3 separate regions of the Homo sapiens genome follow, and regions 1 and 3 are each linked to region 2. The links are contacts of gene promoters, found by promoter capture Hi-C in blood cells and fetal thymus (Javierre and others, 2016). All regions are on one chromosome and are shown on one strand. The core of a region is centred on a gene start or on the middle of the fragment in contact, and the rest is flanking DNA. Distances in the headings are between cores, read along the strand shown.

The links. The method cuts DNA at HindIII sites, captures the fragments that hold promoters and counts their contacts. A CHiCAGO score of 5 or more calls a contact.
Region 1: the fragment with the promoter of CXXC4 here is called in contact with the fragment with the promoter of INTS12 in region 2 in 2 of 17 cell types (naive CD8 T cells and total CD8 T cells); the score reaches 8.4 in naive CD8 T cells.
Region 3: a fragment that was not itself captured here is called in contact with the fragment with the promoter of INTS12 in region 2 in 1 of 17 cell types (total B cells); the score reaches 6.9 in total B cells.

The regions. Positions count from the first base shown.
Region 1 is chr4:104,493,246-104,496,971 of GRCh38, forward strand. It overlaps CXXC4 (CXXC finger protein 4), which reads right to left and starts at 1,649. Exons shown (of 3, transcript NM_025212.4): 1 at 1,456-1,649. The region is part of intron 1 of CXXC4-AS1 (CXXC4 antisense RNA 1); the gene reads left to right. The HindIII fragment of the contact is 2,935 bases long and covers 762-3,696 here.
Region 2 is chr4:105,706,270-105,709,957 of GRCh38, forward strand. It overlaps INTS12 (integrator complex subunit 12), which reads right to left and starts at 2,420. Exons shown (of 8, transcript NM_020395.4): 1 at 2,369-2,420. GSTCD (glutathione S-transferase C-terminal domain containing) reads left to right here and starts at 2,515. Exons shown (of 12, transcript NM_001370181.1): 1 at 2,515-2,747. It overlaps LOC124900747 (a long non-coding RNA gene), which reads left to right and starts at 113. Exons shown (of 2, transcript XR_007058214.1): 1 at 113-154; 2 at 1,632-1,827. RefSeq lists an enhancer at 2,495-2,744. The HindIII fragment of the contact is 4,662 bases long and covers 1-3,526 here.
Region 3 is chr4:107,706,214-107,710,302 of GRCh38, forward strand. The region is part of intron 1 of PAPSS1 (3'-phosphoadenosine 5'-phosphosulfate synthase 1); the gene reads right to left. Among named protein-coding and RNA genes, the nearest start is that of PAPSS1, 12 kb to the right of the region's middle. The HindIII fragment of the contact is 3,967 bases long and covers 92-4,058 here.

The DNA.
Region 1 (3,726 bases), core at 399-2,898, 1.2 Mb before region 2:
AAGCAAAGCAAAGGCATAAAGTGTATATTCACTTAAAAAACCAGTTTCTTTGTTTCCAGATTTTTTGGCCAGAATATCTTTTTGTGACATCTTTTGAAGCCCATAGATTGGTCTAGAATGCAGAGTTCAGGGAATTCTACATGGGGGCCCAATAGTCTCCGTCTCAAATATTCAGAGTTCAAAATGGTTATCAATTATAGTAATTATGCTTATAATTAGGTTAATGAACCAGTTATGCCCAAACTCCAAGTGCAAAAACTTCAAGACCTACTGATGAGGTGCTCTAAAAAGAGGGGTTTATGTAAACAAATCCCTATTAGGCAAAGTAAATCAAGATAAGGAACCTCACCCCAGGCTGGATTAGAAGCTTGCAGGCATCTTTCAATCACAGCAAGTCCCTAATCACTCAGGAACCACCTCTGTGGTTTCGCATTAGGGAAAACTGCTGCCTTCTCAGGTCTGAGGGCAATACAAAAGGTGCCCCCAAAATGCTCTTGGCTAAATATTCTTGATGCTTGGAAGGGGTGAGGGAAGACACAGCAAGAATATGCATATAGCTTCAGTTTCTGCGAATCACATTGTAACTGCAAGACCATAATAACTGCTACTCAGTAAAAACTAGTTATGTCAACCATGCATTAGATATCATCACATTGAGTGGAGGGAAAATTTTCAACCTTTTAGTCTTTTGACCTTGTTCCAAATAAATAAATAATTTAACGTCCCTTTTTTAGAGTCTTAGAGTGGTGTTTCCAAACACAAGCTTTCCTTGCTTTTCTGATTGCCATCACCATCCCTCTTCCTACCTCAAGGTTTAATACCACCAGAAACTGTAGAAAATGATTATGCCCAGTATCCAGGTCATTATTGTTTAATCAATGCATCTCTGGAGCATGAAAAAGGTATCTAAGCCACAGCTATTGTTTGGATTTTATTTAAAAACAAAATAAAACACACACAAATAACTATAGTTCTATGCCAAAGCTAAATTAGAGATCCATACTTCATGATCCTGTTTTGCCTTTAAACAATGTGACTTTACATGCCTAATACTGTATGTCTGGTCTACCAGAGACATAGAGATCAAAGGTCATATTTAACATTCAGGAGGAGGGGCGGGTGCAGACTAATTAATAAATTAATACAGCGACGCTTTTTCTTGCTGGAGTCCAGCATTAATAATCTACTTTCACAATCCCAACGGACAGCAAACATTTAAGAGAAAAAAAAGCCAGAGAAAGAGAAAGAACAATCACTTACCAGTCTCTTTTTATTTGGGGAGCCTTAGAATTTGCAGACGCTGCCAGTCTGCCTTTAATTAGTTGCACATCACCCCCTAACACAAAGAAACACAAATCCAGATGTGTCTTGGCAGCTCCCAATTACAACTTTAATACTTGTAAACAAACTGTTGGGGGGGGGGGGGTAAATAAATATGCGGATCAAAAAAAATACCTGTAAATGGCTTTTTTTTCTTGTTGCAGAGAGAAGGAGGAGGAGATGGTGTTAGTGGTGGGGGTGGAAGGAGGAGGAGGTGGGGGGAGAGGAAAGAGTCGAGTGTGAGTGTATGTGTGAGAGCGCGGGTCTGTTGTCGGTGGTCTCTCCTCTCCCAGCGCGTTGCTCTCCGTCCGTCTCCAGTCGCTGTGTGCGAGGGAGGGAGGGAGCCGGGGAGTCTCTCCTCTCTCTCTCCCCTCTCTCTCTCTCTCTCTCTTCCCCTCTCTCTCACCCTCCCCCCTTCTCTCTCTGTTTGTGTGTGTGCGAGTGTGCGGTTGCTGGGGGAGGGGAGCCACAGAGAAAGGCGAGGGAGGAGGTGTGGAGGCTGGGGGCGGGGGCGCGGGGGTGGGGGTGATTGGCGCCGAGGTGAGGAGGACGCAGGGACGTGGACACCTACTGATGATTGGCTGCAAATTACACGGGGAACAAGAGGCGCACGCGGGCCAGCGCTCCTTTTCACAAATCCTCTCCTCGGCAGAGGAGCCACGTTTTCCCTGCTCGCCTGCGGATCGCCCTCCCTCCTCGCGCCCGGCTCTCCGGCTCAGCCCAGCACACAGGGCTGTTGATTATTTTCTTTTGCTCTCGGAGATAATTGTTTGGAAGGGTTGGAAAGAGGGCGTTTCCGCCACTCTGCGTGTGGGGTGTGTGTGTGCGTGCGTGTGCGGGTGTGTGTGTAAATAAACTTGTCTGGGATTTCTGGCTGGGTTGAGAAGAGCAATACAAGAAACAGAGAAAAGGTCATGTTTGTTTGAAGAATGCTCTTAGTTCGTACCCAATGGCATGGTTTTAAATAAATTTCCTGGTGTACCCAGGAAGACTTTAAAAAAAAATACCATTTAGATCTTTAAAGTAAGGGAAAACGGACCGGTGTGGTTCTTCAGACCCTCGAAGTACTATTATGCCAGAATGTAAAAAATCGGTGATATGATGCTTGGCCAATTTCAAAATCCATCTCAATCTCTGTCTCTCTTCTCTACTCTTCTCTCTCTCCTCCCAAAATCCTCTTTTACTATTCCATCTGGTAGTTCCAAAGAATAAATCAGATTTTTAACTCACTGCCCTATTTTTTAATTTCAAACTTTACTTAAACAAAAACTTTTGTCTTTCAGTCTATTTTAGAATAGTATGTAATTAACATTTCACTTCTTGCCACTTGGGAAAACATAGTTTATGAATTGAAACATAAATATTGTACGGCACGTCAAATATAAATAAAACTCGTTCATAAATGCAGCTGTAAATTAACCTCTTCACTGCTGCCTCAAATAAAATATTTGTGGACACATGCTATCCTACTATTAAAGTATACTCTAGTGGAAATAGTTATAAGATACAGAATTATGAATACTTTTGAATAATTTTTTTTCTAAGAGCAAAACAGTGGCTAAGGTAAGTTATAGAGTAGGAAAGAAAAAACTTAAGATTATTTAAATTGGTGTTATCAAGCAGAGTACAAGTTTTGTATTAAAATTAAGTGTTTATTCTAGAGTAATGCAATATTAATTGTTCAGATAAGTGAGGAAAATATAATGTTTTGTTTCTTTAATAAGAAAAAAAAGCTGAAAAGACATTTTAAACCATTTTGTATTTGAATTTTCAAAAGATAGACTTTGACCATATCAAGACATTACCAACTATGGAGGATAAATTGTTGATAACAAGTTTGAAACTGTGGTGTGTGTATGCCTAAATGAAGGTGTTATTTCAAGAGTGGGCTACTATTGCAATAGGAAACAGGTGTATTTTGTGACTCATTGATTAATATACATGTTTTGTAATTTTTTTAAAGCATAAGCTGTTTGATTATTACCGGTTATTTGACATCTATAGACAAAATAACTGGAGGGTTAATAATTATTCAAGTTAATAAGATATTTTTATTCTTGTGCTAATGCATTATAAAAGCAAAAAAGGAAATTTTCCATTTGATTATTTTGTTTTAGCTCAGCTTCATAGGAAATTTATCAGGAAAATGTGGTCACTTTTTAATGAGTGAAAACATGCTAGAAAAATGATAGATTCTTAAACATCTTTTCACAATATTTAAAATATCAGTCCAATGTTAGAAATTTTGAAGTTTATAAATAAGCAATGTTTTTAATCAAATAAAGACATCATGCTTTCTTTTGCCAAATTTTCTTTTCTGGAAATTTTCCTTTTTGGAAATTCCTTTTCTCATGCTTTCCTTTTTGGGACTCTTCAAGCTTACTTTCAAAATGAAATCTTAAACAC
Region 2 (3,688 bases), core at 1,170-3,669:
TTTTTTGAGACATGGTCTTGCTCTGTCACCCAGGTTGGAGTGCACTGAGATCATGGCTCACTGCAGCCTCGAACTCCTGGGCTCAAGTGATCCTCCTGCCTCAGCCTCCCAAGCAGCTAGGACTACAGGCATGCACCACCGTAACCATGCCCAGGTAATTTTGTTGTTTTTTAAGTAGAGCCAGGGTCTTGCTATGTTGCTCTTATCTGGTCTCAAACAATCCTCCTGTTGTGGCTTCCCAAAGTGCTGGGATTACAAGTGCGAGCCAAATCTCTTAAATTTGAATCCCATGTTTCCAAATGCTTAGTGTATGTGTCTATGTGATTCCTTAATGGCATCTCAAATTCAGTTACAACTAAAATTGAGATTCTGATTATCTTCCCGAAAAGTTCCTTGTCCTGCTCTTACTTTCAATAAATGACACAACTTTCTTTTAGTCAGGTTTGAGACCAAAGTCTTTCCTTCACTGAGTCTTTCCCTACTCCTTATATTCAAATAATCAGAATTCCTGTGGATTCTGACGGCAATATTTTTCACACTTGTCCTACTTTTCACTTCCACTGCTACTACTGAAATTCAGGTTTTATTAGCTTACTTGAACTATGGCAATAACCTCGTTATTTTCCTTGACTTCAACATTGTTGCCATATGAATTTTCCTGAAACCCAGTTTTCTTCTTTTTCATTAAAATAAAAAAAAAAATTCTTGCTGAGAAGTTAGGGCTTTCTACCACCTTCGAAATAAAGACCAAATTTCTTGGCCTAGCATTTAAGAAGATTCAGTAACTGGCACAAAAATTATCATTCATCATCCCCAGATCTGCCTTATAGCTAGCTGACCCTGCCACTCTTATTTTTTTTGTCCAGGAAGCTCTTTACCTATTTTTATATATCTACATCCTATCAAGACCCTATTCAAATACTTCTCATGAAGATTTGACTGACAGCTGCTGTGCCCCTCTCCATTCCAAACCCTATTAATAGTCTCTCCATTCAAGGATATCTCATAGTGCTTTTTCATGGTATTGCAACTTTCTCCCTTGAAGCATTTTTTTTTTTTTTTGGCACAAGTGTTATGTCCCCTACAAAACTCTGAGTACTTTAAGGGCAGAGTCTATATTTATCTTTTTGCCTATCTCTTTGCCACTTTGCAAAGTACAACAAAATAATGGCTATAGAATTACTGGAATTAAGTGATCAAAGTATAGTGGTCTTATCTCTCCTTCTACACAATTGTAGCCATTTCCAAGGTCCCTTCAGCAAAAATCACAAAAGTAACTCACCCCTGCCCCCACAAAAAAAACTCCAAACATCAAAAAAGCAAAAGCAAAGCAATCACCTCTTTCACGACTGGGGACTTGTAGTACAATGTTCCTATCTGTAAAATTCTCACAATCTTTCGCCTGTCTTGCTTAATTCATTAATCCCACTGGTCTGTAAACTTGATGACAGCAGGAACTTGTTTTGTTCACTGTTATTTCCCTAGTGCTTGAAACTTAATAAGGGCTCAAAAATATTTATCGAATGAACGAACTAGGTTTTTTGCGTAAATGTCACCTTATAAGGCTTCTGTGATCTCTCCAGTCTAAATTGGGCATTCATATATAAATATAAGTATGTGCTTTCTCCTAGATCCATTTTTCACCCTACCTGGCAATCTCAAAAGAAGTCCAAAGTTGATCATATGCACGTGCCCCAGATGAAGGAAACAGAAACTGTTCACATAGAGTGCAGTATTATCGTTGCCATTTCATAATGGCTCTAAAAAACTTTGTTCTTCATGACTTCGCAAGCTCTTGCAACCCCTTCCAATAAACATTATTTTAAAGATGCTGCCTTTTTCATTCCTCCACTGAGTTCTTGGTTCTGGATAACACTGATACCTTAGGGACACCTGGAATCGCAGGAGAAAAGGCTCCGATTCCAAACCAATCAAGTGGCTGAAAGCTGACAGCAAACACTTAGAAAAGGAATGTCAATCCTTTGATCAAAGCATCACACATCGAAGTCCTAGAATGGGGGATGGTCCTTGACAGGGGAGCCAAAAGATGAGAGACAATGAGGGAGCTACGTAGAGAAGTCACTAAAACCCTCCGACAAAGTCCGAGGCAGGATTCCAAGTCCCTTGTCCCTAGACCTAGAAATATGCTCGGTCCGCATGTCCCGGCCCGCAACTCCCTCGGAGGAAGCACAGTCCTCACTGAAAGGGGAGAGCAGTCAGTCTAGGGCACGCAACCGCCCGTAAATTATGATTCCCCTTGAGGAGCGAGGAAACTAATACCCCACGTAGCTACTCTCCCACCTCGCTCCTGGCGCGGGGGTCTCGAGCCTCCAGGAGGCCAGGAGCAGAGTCGCTCAGCATAACTCACCGTTCCGCCCCGCCCTGCCGATCCGTCTGTTCCCGGTGGTCCCTTCGGAAACGGTTCCCGCACTGGCCGGCTCCGAAAGCAGGAAAACAAAGGTTCCCACAGTAGGGGCGGGGGAAACGTTTGGCAGTGCGACAGTAGGAAGTGACGTTACTTCCCTTTTTCCGGTCCGCCGGATTATGAATGACGGCCGGCGCGAGTATTTTCCACATAAGGTGGCTGTCGTTTTTCTCCTGGCGTCTGTGGAGGCGAGTGGTCTGCGGGCAGCAGCTCCCAGAGGCAGCCTTGGAATTCCAGCTCGGACTGGGCGGGAAGGCGCAGGCGGCCCAGGTCGCCGACACGCTCACGCACCCTCCCTGCCTGGCCGCGCCTCTGCGACCAGGTAAAGAGGGCGCTCGGGCCGCCGGCTTCTCAGCCTCCGCGACCCCCTAAGAACTGGTCTTTTCTTCGGGGGTCTGCAGGGCTGAGGATGCGGGGGAAGGGTGGGAAGGACAAGGGCGTGGTATCATCGTCCTGATTTTTCTCCCGCCCTGGGGCCGCCTCAAACTCCTTTTTGGCCACTCCTGCTGAAGGTGCGGGTTGAGGGCTCTGGGCTTCTCGGTAGTACGCGTTTCCCAGTTTCCCCCTAGCCAGTCCCTCATGTCTTCCTCTGCTGATGGAGAAATGGGGCAGCTTCCAGTTGGAGGCGTTGGTTGGGGTGGTTTGATATTTGCTGTTAAGTGTTACTTCAAGACCTCTTGGGTCACACTAACTTCTCTTCTCTCTTTGGCATTGAGTTTTCCATTCCAGCCCTTCCTGATTGCAGAAAGCAGTTCTATGTGAATACTACTTAACATTTACTCCAAAGGACTTGCTTCATTTGGGGCCATTTGCTTATGTTTTGTCATCACAGCAGTATCTCTTGGGTTTTTAACTTCTATAGAAAGTTTAATTTGCATGAAAGTTGCTTTGGTTTCAAAAACGTTTGCTAATACACGTACTTCCCATCCCAACTTTCTACCTGGTTTTGGGATGAGATGACTTGTTTTTTTCCCCTTTATTCTTAATGCCAGGATCCCATTCCTTGTCATAAATTCTTGAATATCAAGAAAATGCCAGCTTTAGTAATATATTGTGTGCTACATTATTGATAAAGAAGGTGGTGTATTTCTATTTTACCTAAGCTTATCTGTAAAAACAATGTTTACAGGAGAAAATGCAAAAGCTAGCAAGAACTAGTGATGTGATAATTTTAAACATGTAAACATAGTCATTTAAATCCATGATAATAAACTGTTATAACACAACTAAGTGATTCGCTGTCATATTTAATAAACATTAAGC
Region 3 (4,089 bases), core at 825-3,324, 2.0 Mb after region 2:
ATTTAAATAAGCTTTGTAACCCTCTTTCTCTTCTCCTTGAACTCCTATACCTCAATTTTTGTACTTTTGATGCTGTCCTATAAATCCTGTAAGCTTTCTCCATTACTTTTCATTCTTCTTTTTCCTCCTCTAACTATGGAAGAAATCTGTCTTCAAGTACAATTATTTTGCTTGATCAGTGCTTCTATGGATGCTCTCTATTGCATTTTTCATTTTATTCATTAAATTTTTCAGCTCTAGAATTTTTTATTTTTTTAATAATTTCAATCTGTTAAATTTCTCATGTTGGTCATTTGTTGTTTTCCAGAATACACTGAATTATTTCTATTTTATTGAGGTTTGCTGGGCTTCCTTAAACAATTATTTTTTAATTCTTTTTCAGGCAGTTCATGTATCTCCATTTCTTTTGAATCAGCTACTGGAAGGTTATTTTGATACTTTTGGTAGTATTAAGTCTCCTTGTTTTTTCACATTTCTTGTTGTCTTATATCAATATCTGTACAATGAAGAGGTAGGGACTGATTCCAGTCTTTGTAGACTGGCTTTATTTGGGAAGCACTTCACCAGTCAGCCTGTCCAATCTGGGAAGGCCATCTGGCATGGTGCACAGGCAGGCTTGCTGCTGGAGTCCTCAGGGAGGCTGGCCTGGTATCTGGGTCAGCAGGTAGGCAGAGCTCAGCTGGTGCTGGAGCGGATGTGGAAGCCTAGGTCTACAGTGGTTGGTCTGAAGCCTACCTAGAATCACAGGACCTGCCCTGAAGCCATGGGAGCTGACCTAGATGCTCAGCATATGGGTGCTGGCCTGGAACCTGGGTCCACAGAAATGGTCTTACAGCCTGGGTCAATGGGAGCTGGTATAGTGCTGAGATGTATTGGGATGGTCCTGAAACCTTGGATCTCTTAAGTATGGGGTTGCAGCAGCCAGCCTGGAGGGTGGGGCTACAGGGAATGGCCTTGTACTGGGGCAGACCTGAAGCCCAGGGCTGTGTGGGCCAACCTGGCTCTCAGCTGGTCTGAAACCTGGAGAGGGCCTGAAGCTGGGACAGCTTGAAGCCTGTATCCACAGGTGCCTGCCTGTGACAGCCAGCCTGGTACTAAAGGTAGCTCTAAGCCCAGGGCCACTGGGGCCAGCCTGGCCCTAAGACAAGTCTAAAACTTGCATCAATTGGGTCTGGCCTGGTGGTGGAGGTTGGAGGAGCTGGAACCTTGGGCTGCAGAATCCTGCTTAGTACCAGGGTAGGCTTGGACGCTCAATCCATAGGTACCATCCTGGAGTCTGGGGCTACGGGGGCCTGCCTTGCACTGAGTTTCACTGAGGTGGGCCTGGTGTTGGGTTCTGAGGCAAAATCTTTTGCTTACTGCCCTCTTCCTCCCCTAAGCAAAGGGTATCTTTCTCCACGTGCTGCCTGAGGTTGCAGGCTGGGGGCAGTAATATAGGTCATGTAAAACTGTTCTTTCTACTCTCTTCAATGTGTTTTTTCTGATTTCTCTGCTACATCCAGGTGCGGTCATCTCTCACCTGGTTTCCTTAGCTTTTATTAAAGTATTTTTGTGCAAGAATAGTTGTTCAATTTATGTTTCTGTGTGAAGACAAGCACTGGGAAGTCCCATTCTGTCATTTTGCTGACCTCCACCAATACACAGATTTGACTTTTAAGGAATTAAATTTCTATACAAATCTTCAACTTCCATGAGATTAAGGATCTCTTTTCCTACCTTCCCCTTCACAATCCTGTACAGCAGAAATGCCATCTCCCACACATCTGAATCTTATTATCATCATTACCATTACCTGAAAAATCCTCTGGGACCAAAGGGACAATTTGACAACTCTTTTTAATAGGTATGCCACAAAAGCTGCACCCCTTCCCATCTACTCATCTCATTAACAATAATTATTTACACAATAATTATTAATACTTTATTTCCAATAAAATACTTTTACATATTTAATAATCACTTACAAAAAATTGTAATGAGTCTCTAGATTCATTTCTTTTCAATAAACTGATGAAGCAAATACAACTTACCAGCTCTACATTTCCAAGAACTTAAAAAAGAGGGCTTCAGAAGTAGACATTTGTATATCTTGAGAAGCAGTGGCACCTCTTTAGCTTTAGCTCCCATTGATACTGGCTAAGGAGGAAAAGGGAGCTAAAGTCTCTGCTAAAAGGGAATTGCAGAGGGTGCTATACACATTTTGCTGCCTATACTGGTAGAACCTGTTTGGCTTGGTCATTTTGTTTGAGGATTTTTCCAAGTTACTTCACTCTTTATAGACAAGAAGAAACATATATCTAATGAATTTTAATTGATTTGGGCTCTGTAAAATATCTTCTGCTTTTCTTATCAAATCAAGCTAGAATGCATAAAAATTATCTGTCAAGCTATCAACTGCTGAGAATATGGCTGAGAAAAAATACAGACAGGGTAAGTAGAGACCGTCTGTTTTAATCTCTAAAAAGAATGCTCCCTCAGTTTCTTGCCTCCTACATTTAAAAAGATTCTGGCAGCAAACATAGTACTCTGGATATAAGGAGATTTTTTTTGGTTTATGTATGTTTGATATTGTTAAATCAAGTTAAGCCTAAAGCTACCTCTTTTACATATTTTAAGTTCAGCCTAAAGGTTTCTCCATATGTACTAAACTAACCTAGCTGGAGACAAACAGACTGTATCCACCCTTGTGCCAATGACTGAGTTTTGGCCAATCAAATGTGGCCAACTGTTCAAACCATGTTCAAATAAGTCAAATGCTGAGCTATAACCAATCCAGTTGTTTCTGGACCTCACTTCCATTTTCTGTGCACCACTTTCCTTTTTCTGTCCATAAATCTTCTACCATGCAGCTGCACTGGAGCCTCTGAGCCTACTCTGGCTCAGGAGGCTGCCTGATTCACGAATTGTTCTTTGCTCAAACTCTTTTAAATTTAATTCAGCTAAAGTTTTTAACAATATTTTTCATATTAAAAAATAAACTTAAAAAAAATTGCCACATTGTCCTAACTCCCAATTTTTCAAAGTAAATCAAAGAGCACTTTTATAAAACTACTGGAATTGAAACAGCCTTTGCAAAAATTACAAGTGAGAAAATTGTTAACAGTGAAAAAGATCTGATCTAACCAACCTCCATCTTGCCTTTAACCTCCAAACTGCCCTTAGGTATTGCTGGGTTTGGGTCAAGCTAACTTTGGGAGAAATTTAGTTTTTAGTTTAAATGATAATACTACTTCCCCAAAAGTAAACCATCTTTTAAAGCTAATAAAAGACCACCAGGTTAGGAGATGAGAGGAGCCTGAATCCTCCCAAGGTGTAAACATAAATGATTACCAGCCACTATTCCAGAAGTCACAAGATTTTCAACTTCCCCAGTTACTCCTGCAGATGACATCGCTATTGTAGAACCTAAGATTGGCCTTTTGAGATGTCTTTTCAGGTTTTTGCATTTCTGACTCTCAATGGCTCCACCTGGACCCACCAACCACCTGTGTGCTCCCAACCAGAAGTGTACTTAACACACTAGGACTATCTTCCACACCCCTATGATTACATCCCCAACGAACTGGCTGCACCCATTGCCTTGCCAACCAAACTATCCTTAAAAAACTCTGGCCTCTAAATTTTGAGGAAGGCTGATTTGTTCAATAATAAAAGTCTCCTGTTCAGCTGGCTCTGCATGAATTAAACTCTTTCTCTATTGCAATTACCCTGTCTTGATAAATTTGCCTGTGGGCAGCAGGCAAAATGAACGCATTGGGTGGTTACAGAATTGCAAAGTGGTAGACTTAGGCCTGAATTTTTAGACTCCACAGCCACTTATACATGTAATCTTCTTCTACTTCCCCTTTCCTTCCTTCTGCACCCACTTCAGCCAAATCCTTTCTATAATTCTGCTGAGGAAACATGACATTAATGACTCATTAAGGGTTGAGAATGAGTTACTTCCTTCCACCTCTAAATTTCTATTCTTGGCTTTCTGGGTTGGAATTTTTTTTTAAAGTACATTTCTATACTGAGTCTTCTGTGCCCTAGTTTCCATACACAGGAGAGAGAAACCAAGCTTAGTGCTTCTTACTTAATAGTCTGGGT